2 separate regions of the Homo sapiens genome follow, and region 2 is linked to region 1. The links are contacts of gene promoters, found by promoter capture Hi-C in blood cells and fetal thymus (Javierre and others, 2016). All regions are on one chromosome and are shown on one strand. Each heading gives the region's core, a stretch centred on a gene start or on the middle of the fragment in contact. The rest is flanking DNA. Distances are from core to core; before and after follow the strand shown. Region 1 holds the start of NEK7 (NIMA related kinase 7). Region 2 overlaps PTPRC (protein tyrosine phosphatase receptor type C).

Region 1 (4,916 bases), core at 156-2,655:
AGGCCTCCTTTTGAGATCGTGAACGTTTTCATTTATTTATTTATTTTTTTGAGACGGATTTTCGCTCTTTCACCCACGCTGGAGTGAAGTAACGCGATCTCTGCTCACTGCAACCTCCTCCCCGCCTCGGGTTCAAGCGATTCTTTTGCCTCAGCCTCCCCAGTAGCTGGGATTATAGACTCCTGCCACCACGCTCGGCTAGTTTTTGTATTTTTAGTAGAGACAGGGTTTCGCCATGTTGGCCAGGCTGGTCTCGAACTCCTGACCTCAGGTGATCACCCCCCCCCCCACTTGGCCTCCCAAAATGCTAGGCTTACAGCCATGAGCCACTGCGCCCGGCCATTTTTCTTTTTAAAAATAAACTTTCCAGATCTTAATTTCATGGCTTTAACATTTTAAATGTTTGAGGTATAATCTACTCATTCTTGGCTCTAATCTTTTTGTCAGGGAAGTTAAACTAGTGAGAGACCTATGAACAACAGCAACAATTTAATGAGCACGTCTTATATGCCAAGCTTTGTGGTTAAGCACTTTGCTTTATCTCACTTAATTCTAACTATGGTCCTAGAGGTTGGTATTACAACTAATCTCCTTTTACAGAGAGTTACTGAGACTTGGAGAGGTTAAATAACTTGCAGCCAGGTCACAAAATTAATCACTGAGTTGAGACGACAATTAAGGTATGGCCGACTCCATACTGCCTCCTAGCCGTCTCCTCGAGTAGTTCATGCCCTGTTAACTTAAGTCGTGAAGCTGCTGGTGTCAAAGCATTCCTTTTGCAGTTTCGTGTACTAGGGTTCTGGGTGATTTTGCACATATTTATTTCAAAGATCCTCCGTACCACACCAGGGAGTTTACCTTCTGGAATGTTGTTGAAGCCCCTGTCCTCTATGCTGGGACACTTTCATGCAACGTTTGCTTAGCCAGACTCAGGAAAACGCCTTTTTTTTTTTTTCTCATTTCCCTGCACTCCACATTAAACACAGAGGTAGTTTAAATCACCTGGTAAAAGAAGATGGGATCACAAACGCTGTGGTCCAGAAGGGAACATCAGTAAGTCGGTTCACCGCTTGCAAGTGGGGGCACTTACATATAAATGAAGAAAAAACAAGTTCTTAAAAAGCAGCCGACCCTGGGTTCTTAAAAAGCAGCCGGGGAAGAGGGCTCAGGGGACCGGACGCGGTGCCCCGCACCACGCTAGGCCTGACAACCGGAAGAGAGGGGCCAGGAGGGGCTCCTCCAGAGCGACTTCGGCTCCAGTAGGGAAACCGCCGAGGCTCCCCCAGCTCCAGGGAGCGCCGGGGACGCAGGCGGGAAGCCTCCATCGGGCAGCCGGCCTGGACTCACGACGCGGGGTGGGGCCGGCGCCCGCCCCGCCCCTCTCCTCGGGGATGCCGGGATGTTTACACTCCTGACAGCGGCGGCAGCAGGAGGAGGATCGGGAGTCGCGGGAGGATGGGCCGCCGCTAGGCTCGCACTCCGGACGCGCCTCGCAGTGCGCAGGGTGGGTGCCCCGCGCCTGCAGCGTCCGCCGGGGCGGCGCGGCGGGAGGTGGCCGACAGGCTCCGGGCCTCGCAGCCTCAGCCCCCGGCCCAGCGCGCTTTCCGACGGCGGCGCCGCGCCGAGCCACCCGCCCGCCCAAGGTCTCTCGCGGGCGGGAGAACGGAAAACTCCCAACTTCCTGGTGAGTCGCTGCCCAGGGTTCAGGCGCCCGGACCGGGCAGCTCCTGCCGGGAGGGGCCGCCTGCGGGAGTCGGGCCGGGAGAGGGAGGTCGGGACCGCGCGGGGCGGCCTCCGGGATACCCTCGCTCGGGGTAGGTGGGGCGGGGCGCGCTGCGCTCGAGGCGGATGGGGGTTTCGGTCTTGTTCGTTGGCAGCGGTGGGAGGGGGCGGCAGGAAACTTCATACCTGGCCCCGGCTCTAGAGGCCCGAGGCCGCCAAGGGCGCCGCGGTAACTAAGAAACTCCGTGGCCACGGCGGCGGCGGCAACAGGTCTTTGGTTTCGGGACCCGAGGAACTTAAGCGAAGTCCCGCCTTCCGGCGGATGCTCATTGGCGACGTCGGTTATTTATCTCTCGCGGATTGGTGAAGTCCGTCTGTCAGGATTCGGCAGCAGCCCGACTTAGGAAAGTGAAGTGCGCTGGGAGAGAGTGGGTGGTGGGAGCCGGCAGATAGGGGAGAATCCGAAGTGGCTTCAGAAGTACAGGGAGCGTGAGAGGTCTGTCGGAGAATGAACTTGGGAGAGACTCGGGATTACAAAATGTCGGAGAGAGGGATTGCGAGGCAATAGCGAACATTGCTGGTGATGGTGGCAATGGAAAAGAAATTGAAAACTGAGGCCAAAGTCAGAGAAGGGTAGCCAAAGGAAAACAGAGAAAAGTGACAAGACCGTATGACCGCAGAACAGTGTAAGGAAGCGAGCACAACCTAGAGGATGCTGCCTTGAGAGCTAAAGAACTTCTGTTGCCTCTGTTACACTGTAGGCCTTCACTCCTAAAACCGCAGCATCCTCTATTTAGTCTTGCACTGGGAGCGTACTGGGGTCGCGGAGAGATGATGTATCGTGTTCTCACCTTGCTGTAGTCCTCACTGGGGAGAAATGCTAAAAAATATACTTAGTTTACAGTAAGATACATGTTACTGTCCTTGCGCAATTCTGGTGACTGAACTGAAAATCAGAAATACACAGAAATAAAATGATTATTCTCCTTTGAGGTTACTGAGCTCAAGGATGCAATTGAAAACACCACATTTCCATAGTTTGTAGAGCCTAATGTACCCATCATAATGGGAACCACTGTTTCTAGTTCCTCCTCCAAGGAATTTACAGTTTCAAGGCTATGCACACTCCCTCCAGGCGACAGCAGTATGTCTTGTCAGGTTGCATTAGAGAATTAAAGTACAGAGTATGTGTATTATAAATATGTTCTGTTCAGGACCTTGAGCTGCTGGTGGTGTGGTCGAAGAATGGCATAGTCCTTGCACTCAAAAGCTACAGTATGTTTGGGACAACCGGTCAAACCCTGAAAACGGTGAACAGTAAAACAGGAGATACAGTTAACCCTCTAATGCTTTGTGGCAACTCTTGTTGAATGGCCGCTGAGTATTCTTGGTTTGTAACACTTGGTGATGGCCAAGTGCTCTTGAAACAGCTAACTTAAAATCTCAGCAGTTATTTTATTTCCAGAGGAAGGAATTCTCTCTCCCTCGGCGAGATCCAGTCCACAGCTTGCTTCACTCTTAGAACAGCGGCATCCTCTATTTGGTCTCGCACGGGGAACTTGCTGGGGTAGGGGAGAGGTGTTAGAGCTTTGAAAAAGCTTTGCCTCTCGGAGGAGTCAAAGGGGCAGTAACTGTATGGGGTGAGAGGAAGGCCTGCGAAATAAAAAGGCAAAGGAACCGTTTGAGGAGGCTAGTTGCCTTCTCGGGGCCGGTGTGTGTGCGGGGGTAGTGTTAAGGGGGAGGAAGGAGCCCGGGAGCCCGGAGGACCCTCCCGGAGGTGCGGGCCTGAAATTCCGCTGGGTGCCGGGAGGCTCCGCCCTCCGGAGTACTGACGGCCTTCGCAGCCAATGCGCAGCCAGGACCTCGCGTTCGGGAGGGCGGGTACTTCCTACTCCAGCCCTGGGCTCGGAGAAGGCCGCGTTAGTTCTTTTTCTAGGGATGTCTGCGGAAGGGGCGCCAGGCTGAGGGCCAGCCTGGAGAAAGAAAGAAAGGAAGGAAGGAAGGAAGGAGGAGGGGGGCTTCAGTTTTCCCTGAGCCATCCTAGGTGTCCCGTTTCGTGATTCAGCTGCACCTAGAACTTAACTACTACTGAAAGTTTATAGTAGATTAGAAGCGAAGTTGGTCAGCAGACTAAATATAGTCCATGTGACTGAGGCGGGTTTTACTCTGAAATTACCTGAAAATGAAAACCACTAAATGTCAGAATCTAAATCGTTAGGCGTTTTCACAACTTCTTGGGAATCTTTCCATGGTTAAAAATCTTACCAATTTAACAAGACTAACTTTATTTCTAAGCGTACAGACTCATTTTATAGTCTGAACTAGTATTTAGGTTTATTTATTTAGATAATACATGTAGCACCCACCATTGCTTTCCCCCTTTCATATTTTCCTGTCTGGACAATTTCGAGTTCATTTCCATCCCAGTAAAACAGCACTTACCCAAAGAATGAGGAAAGCACATATGGTATGATGGCAGTGTACTAGTAGAGGAGGGGAGATTTGATGCCTCTATAGCTAACATACCTGATTAATAAATTTAAAAAAAAATTGCATCGTAATGACCAGAAGTCCAGTGCAGTTACAGTTTGTGTAAATAAGTACTTAATCTCATAAGGACCTCATGCCCCAAATCTTTCCTGGTGCTTGCAGTTGATAGTTTTGGGCTCTGACTTACTGTAAACATTTAAGTATTCTTTTTTTTTCCCCTCAATTATTGCGCATTTACTGAAATATAGACTTCTTTTTTTCACTTAAATATGTGGTCTGAGATATCATTAGAGACTTTTACAGTGTTTCCAGAACTAAACACTATTTTCCTAGGAACTATCTGATGTTTTAAGAATGTACCTCTGTAGTATTACAAATGTCGCCACCATTCAGGGTACCTGAGAACTGGGCCTGAGAGCAGGGCCCAGTTAAGTGTTAGTGATTACGCACTTTTGGGGAAAAAAAAAGTAGGTAATTCCAAAATTTCTTTCAGGTTTTGTTTCCCTTGATTTTTTTTTTTTTTTAAATAGGCTTTGGTATTTTAAAAATGCACAGTGTAGTATTTAAAAAATACACAGTGTAGCTGCAGCTGCAGCTGCACAAAACAGCACTCTGTCCTCATTCCCGGTTTCATTCACATTTAAGTGTTTACCCCTTCGAATTTTTGTTGGAAAACTACGAGGGTAGGTATTTCAGTGCATCGT
Region 2 (4,734 bases), core at 2,176-4,675, 530 kb after region 1:
TTTTGAAATGCCGTTTTCACTCAAATTGATTCCTAGTTTTTGCTGAAATCTCTGATCAGGGACTTAGGGGTGTGACTTCAAGGTAACTTTGATTTGTGATCATTTAAACATTTTGAGTTGTAAAAGAAACATATTGGGAAAGGTAAATTCAGTAACAATACATGTGTTAGAATAACACAGCTTTGAAGATCAAGTGTTCTGTTATCTACATTTTCATCTGTTTAATGTATCTAGTCAATTCCATTGGTGATTCACAACAGGATTATAATGGGAAAAAGAGCTCTTAGATAATTTACAGTTTTTTAGTGCTATGGTGCCACCTACTGAAATATTACTAAATACTCCTTTGACTAAATAATGAAAACACAAGACATTTAAGTTTTAAAAAATGTAGAAAATTTCATCCCTAGAAGATAAAAGTCAAAGTGTAGAATGTAGTAACTGTAATATGTGGAACACTAGATATATTACTGTGTTTTATTTTATATTTATTTGATGTGTTTATAGAATTTGAGAGAAAGCTCAATGCAGTTCTTACTTTGAGAAATAGTGATGCCTTCTCTTTATTGTCACACACCTACACATGTGCCCTCTTAATTTCCATTGCTATGTCACATATTTTGCTTTACCTATTTTCCACACTTTCCCAGTATTGTTCATAAAGAATGTTTACATATATTGTAGTGTAATTTGTATTAAACAATCTCCAAATATTAAATATTTATTGTGCACTGGTTATAAAATACTTTATGCAAAAATTTTGTTTGCTTTTCCCAGATCTATTTGACTCCACTAAGAATATATTGTTGCTTTTAAGTAATACAGGAAATAGGGTAGAGTACAAGGCTGTCTACATACATAAAACAACTTAGGTAACTACATCAGTTCATTTGTTTTGCATTGGACAAGCACAGTAATATTTAACCATATACTCCAGTCTAAATGGATAGGTCATGAAGTAGTTAAATATGTTATACAACCAATCTTTTGTTGTTGTTGTTGTTGTTGTTGTTTTTGAGTCAGGGTCTCACCCTGTCACCCAGGCTGGAGTACAGTGGCACCATCACATCTCACTACAGCCTCAACACACACTCATGGGCGTAGCCTCCCAAGTAGCTGGGACTATAGGTGTGCACCACCCTACCCGGATAATTTTTGTATTTTAAGTAGAGACGAGGTTTTGCATGTTTCCCAGACTGGATTGCTTGGTTCAAGCGATCCAGCTGCCTCTCCCTCCCAAAGTTCTGGGATTACAGGTGTGAACCATTGCACCTGGCCACAACCAATCTCATCAGGTCTTTTTTTTCTATCAGTGAAGATTCAGCACAGTGGCTTCTATCTATGATTTTGGTAATGTTTAATAATGTTTGCACATATGAAGTGCAACAGACAATTGAAGTCATTGCTCATGTAATTTAGGAAGAATTAAAATATGATAGAGAATTAATAAATTATTGCAGATATTTGGTTTTATAGTTTTCTCTAAATAGTTAAGTACCTTCACCTACTCCCTACCTTGTTTCATATATAAAGGCATTCTCCACCAAAGTATTTGTTAGTGTTCTGCTAACGTTGATGTAAAAATCATTAGATGACTGGGGGGGCGGGGTGTGGGGAATGTCCTTTAGATGTTACGTAGGTGTTTTAACTAAGCTATTTTATATAGGTCACATTTAGCGTGTTCCTACTTTAAGACTGGTAAAATGTTTAACATTAAAAAGACTGAAAAATAGATTTATGTAATCTAGTGCACATGGCTTATTAAAATTGATATGTTGCTTTAAGTTGCATCACTCTAGTGCATACCTTATTTCCTTAGGGGCATTGGCTTAAATTTTAAAGTAGTTTTTAATTTAAAATTTTTATTTTAAATAGATTCTATGTGTTTTTTTCAGGCACGAAAACATTTTTATGTCATTTATCATGTTGACTAAAAGTGTTACCAAAACTAAAAATCTGTTTATAGGGATTTTATGACCATGAGAACAAGCAAGTTGAGTCTTACACTAAGTCTAAACAGTGATGCTGAAGTCTTGGAATTTTCTTTTAAAAAGATAAAATGGTGTGTGGGGTGTGTGTGTGTGTGTGTGTCTGTGTGTGTGTGCACGCACATATTTGAAATAGTATATAAAAATGAAATAAAACATAGATTACAATGTTTTAGTGTCACCTAAAAATCACTCAGTGGAGGAATTTAGAATCATATCCAGTGATAAATCAGTGTACAAGCAAACACATATTCAATTCAAGAGGCCTTTATGGGAAGTAAGCATGAACATAGAAGAAAGGAAAATGTTGGCTCTTTAGATATTATACTGTTTTCCAGGATATTAAATTTTGCTGCATTAAAGATGAAAAGATTCGAGGAAATTTTGAATATGGAGCGATGATGAGATCAGAAAAAAATGTATATGTATGCCCATTATTCTGTCCTCTAGCTCCAGAAACCTCTTAACATCTAAACAAAAGGTCTGTAAATTTTAATAATTGTGCTTGATATTAGTGTAGTTTGGTTGACTTTCCTGTCAAAATAGTATTCTGTAATAAATTAACTTGACACACCTCTAAATTTTCTCTAATATTTGTTTGTACCATTATAGAGCATTCACTCAGCACATTGTGATTTAATCTGCATATCTATTTTTAGGGTCAAGGTTATTTTAGCATTTGTAGCACTACTAGTAATTTACTTGCAGCCAAATTATGATTAAGATGCATTTTTACTTAGCTCATGAGTTTTTAATAAACACCTTCTGTAAAAGAATTCTCATGCTTAAAATTTCATATGAAGAGGAAAGGCTGTAAGGACAAGTTGATGGGAAAAGGGGACGCCTGATGAATGAGAGCATGGCCTGTAAAGTCAGACAGGCTCAGGTTCAAGTCTGGCTCACATATACTAGACTGGCCTTGTGAACTTGGCCAAGACACTTGACTTTTCTAAGCTTCTTAGGGTTTTTGTGGTGCTTAAGAAAGAAAACATAAGCAAAAGACTTAGTATAGTGCCTGGCACCCAGTAAACACTCAATAAATATTAACAATTAATAACAATAAAATATTATTTCTAAATTATTCTTTAAAAAAGTAAATCATTAGAAACAGTCTTCTCCGTTTTGGTAATTTACCTCTTGTCCTTCTTTTCAGAAGTTAGATTAAAATAATATACATCATGTATTTCTTTTAAAAAACGTATTGCCTTTGGACCACTTGGAAGTTTATTAATCTCTCTGAGACATGGAACATATACGTAGTCTGATGAATAGTGTACTGGTTGGAAACAGTTCTAGTATATTTACTCAGGCATTCACAGTTCTTTTGTTAAAAAACAAATAGCTTCACATAGTGTCCCAGCATTTTTCTTCTCATTTCTGTGGTAAACAGATGATGAATTATAATTTTCTTTTATGAAACTCTATCTATAGTTGGTGCTACACATTTTGGTGACAACAAAGTAGTAAATCAGAACAACAGAATATAGGGGTCTGTGGAATTAGTGGTGCAGGTAACATTAAGATTTCTCTTTTCTCTGTCATCAAATTTGCTTTCTGATTTCTCCTCTGTATTAACTGATCCAATGGCTTCCGTCATTCTGAGGAAAAAGTTCAAGCTCCTTTTCAAGGCCTACAGTGCTTGCTCCTTGGCTCTTCTCCTAAAGCTGTTATCATCAGATCTGTTTGATTTCTCCTTTGCACTTACTCATGCTTAAAAGAATCCAGCAATTACTTATCAATCACTTCTTATACACAAGACTCTTTGCTACAGCTATTTCTCTTTCTTCTCCTCCTCTTCCTCATCTTATTATGTGATTCATGCTGATGTTGATGCGAGAAATTTTGATTATTAGTCTTAATCAGGTGTATCCATGACTAAAATGTCATTGCAGATGACTAGATATATGTGTTTTATGGGTTATAAGCTTATCCAGGGCAAGGGTCATGCTTTTATCATGTTTGAACCTAGTCTCCAACAGCATACCAGCAAAACAATGTATGTTTCTTGAACCTAAGTGAACTAAATTAACTTGTTTCAAGTTCCAAGGAATGAGGTGCTTGCATGAGAAGGGGCATATCAACCTAATTTTAGATATGTAAGAGCTCATGTATTTCTCAGATAAAGAAGAGATATGTGTTGTATAAAGTATGTTCACACACTCAAAAACAATTTGAATATTTTAAATTTGGTGATATGTTTTGTTCTTCACAAACAATGAAGGACACTTTTCCTTTCACTTCAAACATGAGAGCTATTAGTTATTGCTATACTAATATTTTTTTCTTATTACCTCTTTTGCAAATCAACACAATTCTAAGACTGTAATTTACAAGGAAATAAGAACAAATAAGGAGAGCGGAATGCTGTTAATGGGAACATAAACATAACAATAGTTTACATGAAACAGAAAGATAAAAGCTAACTAGATAAGAAAAGGGACAAAAGTACAAACAATATCAATTAAAAACAATATTTAAGTATGAATTATTAAGAAAAAGAGAAATGTAATGAGAAAACAAGAAAGTCATTATGTTAATAATTATGTATCACCCATCAATGATATAAAAATATATATATCAAAAATGCATTTTACTTCAAGGAATAAGCCAGGGAATGTCATTGAAGAATACGGGGTGATGCTCCTTGGATGGCAACTCTGAAGGAAGAAAATGTTTTCACATCAGTTTGTTCTCAGAAGATAAAATATAAAGGCAGAAAGTCACCTTAAGTACCAGCTAATTCACT

Evidence for each region. Contacts are between HindIII fragments. The CHiCAGO score rates a contact against its expected background, and 5 or more counts as called.
Region 2: a contact is called between a fragment that was not itself captured here and the fragment with the promoter of NEK7 in region 1, in 17 of 17 cell types (naive CD4 T cells, naive CD8 T cells, total CD8 T cells and 14 more). The highest score is 18.8, in naive CD4 T cells.

Annotation. Positions count from the first base shown.
Region 1 is chr1:198,155,593-198,160,508 of GRCh38, forward strand. NEK7 (NIMA related kinase 7) reads left to right here and starts at 1,406. Exons shown (of 10, transcript NM_133494.3): 1 at 1,406-1,684. RefSeq lists enhancers at 592-651, 2,082-2,131, 3,671-3,890 and a silencer at 1,242-1,841. The HindIII fragment of the contact is 2,805 bases long and covers 514-3,318 here.
Region 2 is chr1:198,686,008-198,690,741 of GRCh38, forward strand. The region is part of intron 2 of PTPRC (protein tyrosine phosphatase receptor type C); the gene reads left to right. Among named protein-coding and RNA genes, the nearest start is that of PTPRC-AS1, 21 kb to the left of the region's middle. The HindIII fragment of the contact is 971 bases long and covers 2,941-3,911 here.